3 separate regions of the Homo sapiens genome follow, and regions 2 and 3 are each linked to region 1. The links are contacts of gene promoters, found by promoter capture Hi-C in blood cells and fetal thymus (Javierre and others, 2016). All regions are on one chromosome and are shown on one strand. The core of a region is centred on a gene start or on the middle of the fragment in contact, and the rest is flanking DNA. Distances in the headings are between cores, read along the strand shown.

Region 1 (3,375 bases), core at 536-3,035:
GAGTTTGAATCTTGCTGCTTCTAGTGGCTAGCTGTCCTATCACTCCACTTCTCTGGGCATGTCTCCTCAGCTGTTAAATGGCATTAATGACACCTAATTGATCAGGCTGTTGAATGGATTAAGTGAAACGGTGAGCACACAGCTGCAGGCACGAGGTCCAGCAGAGAGAAAGGGCTCCATCGCCTCTCTCTTTTTGCCTCTGCCACTTCCACCCCCAAAGATCCTGTCCTTGCTCTTGACCAAGCATCTCAAGTACCCATCAGAGCTTCCTCTGCCCTGAGTGTAAGGAACCTTGTCCTCTCATCCAACAACCCCTTCCATGGACCAATGGTGGGCCTGACTTCTAGGGGACTCTGGCCTCTTCACTGCAAAAGTCAACAAACTGGTTCATTTGTCTCCTGGCAGGAAAACTCCCCTGTCCAGCCCTAGGAAAGGGATAGGTCTAAGCAGGGTCATGTGACTCCCTCTGGCCACAGAATGTGAGCAGAAGGTCTATCAACCACTTCCACTTCTGACTCATCAAAATTTCTCCTTTCAACAGAAAACCAAATACTGAATGTTCTCACTCATAGGTGGGAGTTGAACAATGAGAACACATGGACACAGGGAGGGGGAAAATACACACTGGGGCCAGTCAAGGGGTTGGGGGCAAGGGGAGGGAGAGCATTAGGACAAATACCTAATGCACGCAGGACTTAAACCTAGATGATGGGGTGATAGGTACAGCAAAGCACCAAGGCACATGTATACCTATGTAACAAACCTGCACATTCTGCACATGTATCCCAGAACTTAAAATTAAAAAAAAAAAATTCTCCTTTGCTGTCTCCCTTTCCCCAGAAAACTTGGAGCCTATGATTGGAGAATGGTGGCATCACTGTTTGAAAGGAATCTGGGTCCCTAAATGACTACATTAGAATGTGATGTGGGTGAGCTATTATGCTCCCAAGACTATAGGGTTTACTTGCTACTACAGCAGAGCCTATTCCCCCCCTAACTAAATCAGACAGCCTGACACTTCCAAGGGGCACAGCTCCTAAAATGGGGCATCTTTACCTGTTCCCTCTCTCAGGGTGAGTCCCTCTCTCTCCTGACTCACTCTTCTCAGGGAGTGGAGACCAACGTTCCCTATCCTTCACCTCCCACCCCTGCCCTCTATGAGAAGATCTAGATTCTAACATCCAAATTTACATTCACAGTCTCTGCCAGGGTATCCATCCCTCCTGTGCAAATTGGCTCCTTGTGGCCAGCATGGCATCATGGACATCCCCAGGGGAGTACTGTGATCAGGCCCTGCCATCACATTTTCTGTACCTCCTTGGTCTGGACCTCAGTTTCCCCATATCAGAAAGCCCTGGAATGCTTTTCCTGATCTGATATTTGCAAGCCATGGAAAGCACATCTGAGAGCAAATGAATGCCTAAGGCTGACAGCCAGCAGACTGCACCTCAGCCCAGCCTCCCCCACACATGACCACAGGCTCTCCTGGCTGAGTAAACATGTTTTATTGGGCCTGGGTACACTTCCTGGCCATTCTGCTCCCACCTTCCCTTCCCCTGCTCTGGCCAGTTCCCCAGCACAGCCCCTCCCTGGGGCCTCCAATACCTGTCCTTCAGATCCCCACTGCCTCCTGCCACTTTTCTACCCTGACACCTGCATCCCCAGCCTTAAGGGGCGTGGAGAGTTTTTCTCTTATCAGCCTGTTTTACTGCCCCCTCCTCCTTGGTTACACAGTAATTTGGAGCAAAATTCCAGGCAAGGACAGATCAACAACTGTCAGCTCCCAGTCAGAGAGAAAGGGCCTCTTCAGTCTGTCTCAGGAGACTGGGAGAAACAGCATAAAGGACCCCACAAGGAAGGGAGAGGTACCCTGGGTCAGGCGCTTGTGGAGAGAGGGCTTCGCATGTAAAGTGACGTCAGGGAAAATAGAACAGAAAAAAAGCCAGGGCCAGCCCAGAGGCACCTGAGAAGAATCAGACCCACAGCTCAGCCCAGCCCTGGCACAGAGAAGAGACAGGCCTGGCAGCACCCAGGGACCCCCTTTCCTCAGCCTCCACCTGCAGGACAGCAGGAGCACTGATGCGCTGAAGGTACGTTCTGGAGTCTGGAAGCAGCAGAACTGAAGGAAGTAAACACGGGTGTCTGGGAAGACCCCTCAAGCTGCAGTAAAGCCCAGGACTGAATTGGCCACCTGAGGCCAAGGGTGGCACTCCAACCTCCTCCTAAAGGCTGGCTAGAGCCACAGGAAAGGGCCAGAAGCCAGAGAAAGGGCAAAGGTGGACCCCTGCCTCCAAACCTCCTCTGGAGACTGACCTCCTCTTTCCTGTGCCTTATTGTTTCTCCCTCTTCTCTTTGTTCGCCACTGGGCGGTGACCTCAGGGATCCTGGCCTAACCTGGTGATTGTGCAGGCAACTGTGTCCGAGAAGACCCTTCTCTGGAAGATTGAACCCCAATTCAGCCATGGTGACTCCTTTGATGTCAAACTGGTAAGGGCTGAGCCGTGGGCACAGGATACCACTCCTTCCAGCTCTTCTGCTGTGACCTGCCCATGGAAGTCCCTGTGGACACGAAATCCTGTTTGGATCATCTAACTGGAGGCTCTCTGTTCTTCACCTCCACGCGCCCTCTTGACCCCAGGAGGTTCAGGGGAGGAAGTACGCCACTCTCCACTGGCACCCTCCTTGGCCTACACAGAGTCACCCCTGAGCCCCTCAATGTGTGCTGAGGTGGGCCCTGCTCTCTGCAGGGGTATGGAGAGAAATAGCTTGGGGTGCTGTGAGGCCCCGAAGAAGCTGAGCCTGTCCTTCTCCATTGAGGCGATCCTAAAGAGGCCTGCCAGGAGGAGTGATATGGACAGACCAGAAGGGCCAGGTGAAGAGGGCCCCGGAGAAGCTGCGGCCTCAGGCTCTGGGCTAGAAAAGCCTCCAAAGGACCAGCCCCAGGGTAAGTGTCTTCTGATCATTTCTTTCTGTTTCCTGGTCTCCAAGACCCAGCTGGGCTCAGGCAGAGAAAAAGCTTCTCCGTCCATATTAACTGGATAGAGGACTCTAAAATTCAGAGCAAGACCTGGCTCTGGGCTGGTTTCCTGATATACCTTTCAATCTAACCCAAAACTGTGCTTTTCAGCTTCAGACACCAAGGCTCAGTTAGTTGCAGAATGCAGGGACCTGGGGCTTGTTATTGTAACCAGGCCCCGGCTAAGAATGCTAGTTACCATTTATTCAGCATTGACAATGTCATAGGCATTCTCTTTTAATTTCAGTAGAAAAGCATGATTATCATAACTGGACAGATAAGAAAACTCATCTGTGAAAGAGAAGAGGAGGATAATGTCCCCAAGTTACACAGCTGGTAAACAGAAGCCCCGCTATCAG
Region 2 (3,375 bases), core at 648-3,147, 1.8 Mb before region 1:
TCCCAGGAGGAGTGCTGCTCAGTCTATCTACTTAGTATTATAATTTCTCTGGCTTGGTATCAAGGCACTCCCATTTCCGGCTTCCATGAGATGTCTCAGAGGGCATGCTGCCCGGTGTAGCTGCATGGTCAAGCTTCTTCATATCTCTTGCCTCATCACTTAAACTCACTATTTTGTACTCCTGCTTCAGCTATAGGGAGCTACTGTTAGTTTCTTGAAGACATATGCTCTCTCTCTCTCTCACATCTGGACCTGAGCACATCCTGTTACTGCTGCTTGAAACAATGTGATCCCCAGGCACACACCATTAGCTTAGAAGCCTCCCCTGATTCTTCAAGGCTGGTTGAGTCCCTTCTCTGTGCTCTCATGACAACAGTTGGCAATTCCTCGTTGCAGCACCTAGCCCATGATGCTCTTTGGAGGCAGAGACTGAGTCTTTCTCACTATTGAATTTCCAGCATTCATCACAGAGCCTGGCATATATAAAGCCCTCCATCATATGTATTAAGTGAATGGATAAATGAAAAAAAGTTATATATATGTACATATATGTGTATATATGTATATGTATATATGTGTATATATGTGTGTATATGTGTGTGTATATATGTACATATATATGTATCTATGTACATATATGTATATATGTATATATATGTGTGTGTATATGTGTGTGTGTATGTATATATATTACAATGAAATACTATTCAGCCTTAAAAAGGCAGGGAATCCTGTCATTTAACACAATATGGATAAACCTAGAGGACTCTAAAGGCAAATACCACATGTTCTCACTCACAAAATCTAAACAAGTTGAACTCCTACAAGTAGAGAGTAGGATGATGGTTACCAAGGGCTGGGGGACGGGAGAGGATGGGGAAAGCATAGCTGTCCATCAAAGGGTAGAAAGTTTCATTTAGACAAGAGGAATCAGCTTTAGTGATCTATTTCACAGAATGGTGACTATAATTAATAATGCATTACATAATTCAAAATTGCTAAAAGTAGATCTTAAATGTTTTCACCATAGAAAAATAAGTATGTGAGGTAGTGAATATGTTGACTAGCCTGATTTAATCATTTCACATTGTAAACATATATCAAAACATCACATTGTGCCCAATAAATATATTTAAAATATTATTTTTTCAATTAAAAATAAAATTTTAAAGATAAAGAATGAATAGTAAGTAGACTGTCAGTATGTTCATAGAATACTCTTAGCAGGTGGGAACCCTGAATCACTAATGACCTCAGGGCAGTTATGTACCTCTGGTGGAGAGAGGTGATTCATTCTGCTCCCAGAACTTGTTAAAAATATCCCTTAACCAAATTCAATTTATATGCACCTATCAATCTTCTAGTCTTAATGCACTTCCCCAAGTAGATTTCTTAAACTAGAACAGAAATGTGTTGGCTGAGTGACACATTCTCAGTCTATTGCTAGATAGACTGAGAATTGCACACTGTTAGGTGATTATGTTGGCTCTGTACTTTTTAAAGCTATTTTATACAATTTTGGTTCATATGGACACGATCTCAGCACTCCTGCTGGGAACTAACAGAACTAAGCTTTTCTTTCCGTTTTTTTCATATATATGTTATCCAAGGAGGACAATTTTTATTTATGTTTTTCTCACAGGGTCTTGAGGGTGCTCAATTAACATAGTTGAGTTGAGCAGTTAGTGAAAGTGAGAACTAAACTCTAGGGACATGTATGAGTTTGCTAGGGCTGCTGTAACAAAGTACCACAACTGGTGGCATATCAACAGAAAAGTATTGTCTCACAGTTCTGGAGCCTCGAAGTCTGAGATGTCACATAGGTTTGGTTCCATTTGAAGACTGTGAAGAACAGCCTGCCCCATGTTTCTACACCAGCTTCTGGTGGTTTGCTGGCAATCTTTGACATTTTTGCCTAGTACAAGCATCACCTCCATCTCTGCCTTCCTCTCCACATGGCATTTTCCCTGTGTGTGTCTCTATTTGTCTGAATTTCCCCTTTCTATAAGGACATCAGTCACATTGGATTGAGTGCTCACCTTTCTCCAGGATGACCTCATCTAAACTCATCTAATTCCATCTACAATGACTCCATTTACAAATAGTCACATTCTGAGGTAGCAAGGGTTAGGACTTCAGCATATGAATTTGCATGGGGGGCAGTAGAGCTAATTCAACCCATAACAAGACAGAATTAACAATAACCATTGAAAACTTTAAATAAAGCTTTATATCAAAACATACTTTTAAGTAAAACTTTATTTAGATATAATTTATGTATATTTTAAGTGTACAGTTTGATGCGTTTTGACACATGTACACATCTATTTAACTTCTACCACTATCAAGATATAAAACATTTTTTATCACCTCAGAAAGTTCCTTTGCTTCTCTTTTTAATCAATATTCCCCAACCCAATCACCATTCTGACAACCACTTATTTGATTTCTGTCACCAATGATTAGTTTTGTCTATTCTAGAACATCAAATATTCCTTGGAATTATATACTTTGTAGTCTTTAATGTCAGGCAATTTTTCTGTAAATGTAATGCCTGTGAGAGTCATCCATTTTATGTGTATCAGTAATTTTTTCCTTTTATTGCTGAGTAGAATTTCACTTCATAAATATACCAACATTTCTCTATCCGTTCATTTGTTGTTGGACAGTTGGGTTGTTTCCAGTTTCAGGCTTTCCTGAACAGGCCTTCTATGAGCATTCATGTGCTAATATTTTTTTGTGGGCATATGTTCTTATTTCTTTTGGATAAATATTTAGACATGAAAGTGTTGAGTCATGCATAAAGAGTTTTCAGGTCACCTTTTTTTATTCTGAAAGTAGTAAAATCAGCCAAGCATTCATTGGCGTTAGGGACTTACCCATGGAGCCCATTCTCAATAAAAGTCCTGAAACCCACTCCAGGCAAAAGTGTAGGTATCATCATTCCAATAGTAAATAATGTGGTCATTTCACTTTGTGTGGTGGTTTACAGTTTTTTGTTTTGTTTTGTTTTGTTTTGAGGCGGAGTCTTGCTCTGTCGCCCAGGCTGGAGTGCAGTGGCGCGATCTCGGCTCACTGTAAGCTCCGCCTCCTGGGTTCATGCCATTCTCCTGCCTCAGCCTCCCAAATAGCTGGGATTACAGGCACCCGCCACCAAGCCCAGCTAATTTTTTTTTTTTTGTATTTTTAGTAGAGACGGGGCTTCACCATGTTAACCAGGATGGTCTCGATCTCCTGACCTCGTGATCCGCCCACTTCGGCCTCCCAAAGTGCTGGGATTACAGACATGAGCCACCGCGCCCGGCCTATAGTTTTTAAAGTCTTTTCATATTCACTGTCTAGTTCAATTATTGTCACAAATTCTAATAAGCTAAG
Region 3 (3,375 bases), core at 255-2,754, 1.5 Mb before region 1:
ATCTCTGATGACCTGTTCTGGTGACTATGGTGGTTATACTTATCCAACGGAGACTTACAGCTCTAAATATATGCTGTGGGTTGAGTTTCTTTGGAAAAAGACCCCGAGATGGATGTCAGCATACAAGAGGTTTATTAGAGAGAGCTCTTGAGAACAGCACCTATGAAAGGGAAGGGGAGAAAGCAGGACTAGGCAGAGGGGAAAATCAGCCTGTGAGGCAGTATCCGAGTGTGGCAGATGATCCTGCAGGACCTCATGTTCATCAGCCATTCCGTGATGTGGGGTGTCCCACGAAGGGGTGTGGCCACAGGCATGGCCACTCACTTCAACAGAGGCAACTGCAAAAAGGGCTGATGCCTTTTCTGAGAGCCCCCGCTGCAGGGACTGCTCCCACCAGCTGGCGTAATAAGGCCTTTATTCCCAAAGGAAAATGTGGGAGTCTAGTACATACGACCACCATTCTCATCTGATGAGACAGAGCACAATTAGGAGCTCCTCCGTGACACCTTCCCAGCTACCTTCTCTAACCCCCTCTAGGAGAGGTGACAACTCTCACTGTCCCCTCATTACTCATCTCCTCATTTGCAGAGCCCGTCACACTGCTTCACACCCAGTAGGGATTCGATAAACGCCAGTTGAAGAAATGCATCACTGAACACTCAACATCAGCATAAGAAAATGAATAAAACACCATGTAATTATAGAAAAACTGCCCCTCGTGAGTTCACTGTGATCAGGAAGAGAAAAACAAACAGACACGATAGGGGAACTTGAAAAGAGCAGCGGATGGAAGCCAAGACACGGGCACTCTGATCTCAACTCTGGGAAAAGCCTGCATCCCTCTAAGCTTCCGTTTCTTTCTTTATGAAACAAAAGGACACGTCCACACGTTCTATGAAGATTAGAGAGCTGTGCCATACTCAATTTCAACAGCTGTCCTAAATGATGTCATTGTTAGTGTCATTATTGACACGAATAAGAAAAGTAAATTTTGATCCTGATAAGGGAAAGAGTCCCGGGGATCAAAATGTCATTCCCATGATTTGGTGAAGACTTTCCTCAATTAGCCCAGAGCTCAGAAGCCCTGAGAAGGAAGCAGGGAGTGACCAGGGCAAGCAAGGAAATTTACTCTCTGTTCATGAATAGAAACAGAAACCAACAGGAATATCCTGTGATTTATGAAAATGCTGGGATTTAAAATCATTAAGTAGTATTTTGCTTTCATAGGATATGGAGCTAAGAGGAATGGCAGAAGGGATTTTAAACACAGAAGGGGCTAGCGTGCAATTAAAAAAATATATAAAACTAAAAATTTCACTGTCGAATTTCTTTCTCATTGTACTCATCCAGTATAGAAGAATTTTTAAAATAATATAATTTTTAAAAAGACATCTGGGAGAGGGGTATTAAAATAACAGCCTAAGATTTGTGCTAACCTGCCACTTCTCTCACATATCCATGCCACAGTTAGTACACCTACTGAGCTCACAATTTCCCCCTAGGTACTCTCATATACCTTGAGGCCGTGACGAGAGTTACAATAATAGCTATAAAGAAACCCACCAGACTAGAAAGAACGTCTTGTAAAGAAAGCCAAATACATACATCTCCTTAAAATGATAAACCACAACGTTAATGAAAGCAAAAGCCATATGAACATTTTCAAAAACTCTAGAATCAATACTCATCTCTACTACCTCACAGGCTTTCTTGGCAATTAGACTATCCTTCGATAAAAAGAAAACCAATGAACACACGTCCCGACCAGTATGTGAACACTCCGCTATCTGCATACAAAATACACACATTTGATATTTATCTGTTAAAAACATCTTCATTTACTAAAGACATGTAAACAAGTTTCTGTTTTACTCTATTATTTTTCAAATCCAAGCAGAGTTGATATTGAACCATATTTGTAATTCCTCACCCACTGCATTAGCACGACCTCATTCGAGGAGACCTCACCTTTTTAAAAAAGTCAACCCCTATTCTTGGCATGCTGATACCTACAAGGATATCGGGGAAAAAACGAATGGGCTACCATTACCTTTGAACTTGTGGAACACAGCCCACAGCTCTGCAATGTCAGTGGCAAAGGTGATATCCGTGTCAAGGACGATGACTCTCTCCAGGTTGGCAGGAAGAGTCTTGGTCAGGACAAGCTTCATCAGACCATAAATCCCAGAGTAATGTTTATTGGGGATCCAGGAAACTTCAGACTAGACAGAACAAGGCAGAGAGAGAGTTGGAGAAAGGGAAAAAAAATTGCTATATTAATTCTTTGCTTAAACATTATAAATAGTGCCTAGCACACAAAAAGTATCCAATAAAAATTTGTTGAATAAATGAATGAGTTTTCTTTTAAAGATTTATATAATTTGCATTTTGACATGTGAAGTTTTCTGGAGGAAAATGTATCTGAATTAAGGGAGAGGAAAAGTAATAGTTATGAAATAATTATTACTGCAAATCCTATGTTGAGATTTTTAAATAAAACTTTTGTTATTATAGAAATTAAATAGATCCACTAGAGAAAAAAAGGATATGCAAAAACATAAAGGTCCAAAAATTGAATCCCACTACAAATACTTTTGCAACCAGTATCAAATTGTTCCTATGTACGTATATTTCTTTAAATCATATTCCATTTACGTGTCATTAAAGATTAGTGGGCAGTAGTATTGTTAAAGCTTATGCTTATTCTTTTAAAACTGTAATTGAATAGATTACTACTGCTGCCTTCTCTTTATTCTCAGATAAATAAGAGGACCTAGTCATCACGCGACACTCTTCACCTGACAGCAATAGAGGACACACACATAGGACAGAAGGAGGACCTAGTCATCACGTGACACTCTTCACCTCCTAGTCAAGGAGGACCTAGTCATCACGCGACACTCTTCACCTGACAGCAATAGAGGACACACACATAGGACAGAAATGAACCACCCATGGAGCACTGACATTATGATCCTCACATAACATAATGGAACAATCAATGGCTTGCAGGTGGGCAGAGTCATCAGCGAGGTACACACACGGGTGCCATTTTGTGTCCAAAGGCAAGGATAAAAATAAAAGCACCAGTGTGATGAAAGCTCTCATCTATGCACAGTCATTTATGAAGATCACTGTGGGCAGAGGCCCCAACCTAGCTGCCATGGGGAGTTTCCATGGGAGCCAAAGCACACTTATTTTCAAGAGGGTAACACTTTTAATAGAACCCTTTAAAACAGGGAACATGGCCACCTTCTCAGGATTCCAAAAAATATTGATCTCCTTTGACCTTACAAATACCATGTTGAGGAGATGTTCTTAAAAAAATTCAAATTTAAAAATTTTGTTTTAGACACCAAAGTTTTATTCCCAAAG

What was found. Contacts are between HindIII fragments. The CHiCAGO score rates a contact against its expected background, and 5 or more counts as called.
Region 2: a contact is called between a fragment that was not itself captured here and the fragment with the promoter of ISX in region 1, in 1 of 17 cell types (endothelial precursors). The highest score is 5.1, in endothelial precursors.
Region 3: a contact is called between a fragment that was not itself captured here and the fragment with the promoter of ISX in region 1, in 1 of 17 cell types (endothelial precursors). The highest score is 5.5, in endothelial precursors.

What each region holds. Positions count from the first base shown.
Region 1 is chr22:35,064,373-35,067,747 of GRCh38, forward strand. It overlaps ISX (intestine specific homeobox), which reads left to right and starts at 1,786. Exons shown (of 5, transcript NM_001303508.2): 1 at 1,786-2,090; 2 at 2,380-2,944. The coding sequence starts at 2,716. The HindIII fragment of the contact is 3,728 bases long and covers 1-3,014 here.
Region 2 is chr22:33,240,989-33,244,363 of GRCh38, forward strand. It overlaps a transcript of LARGE1 not described here. Among named protein-coding and RNA genes, the nearest start is that of LARGE1-AS2, 78 kb to the left of the region's middle. The HindIII fragment of the contact is 654 bases long and covers 1,571-2,224 here.
Region 3 is chr22:33,562,798-33,566,172 of GRCh38, forward strand. It overlaps LARGE1 (LARGE xylosyl- and glucuronyltransferase 1), which reads right to left. Exons shown (of 15, transcript NM_133642.5): 6 at 2,051-2,222. Among named protein-coding and RNA genes, the nearest start is that of MIR4764, 130 kb to the left of the region's middle. RefSeq lists an enhancer at 3,163-3,232. The HindIII fragment of the contact is 1,318 bases long and covers 846-2,163 here.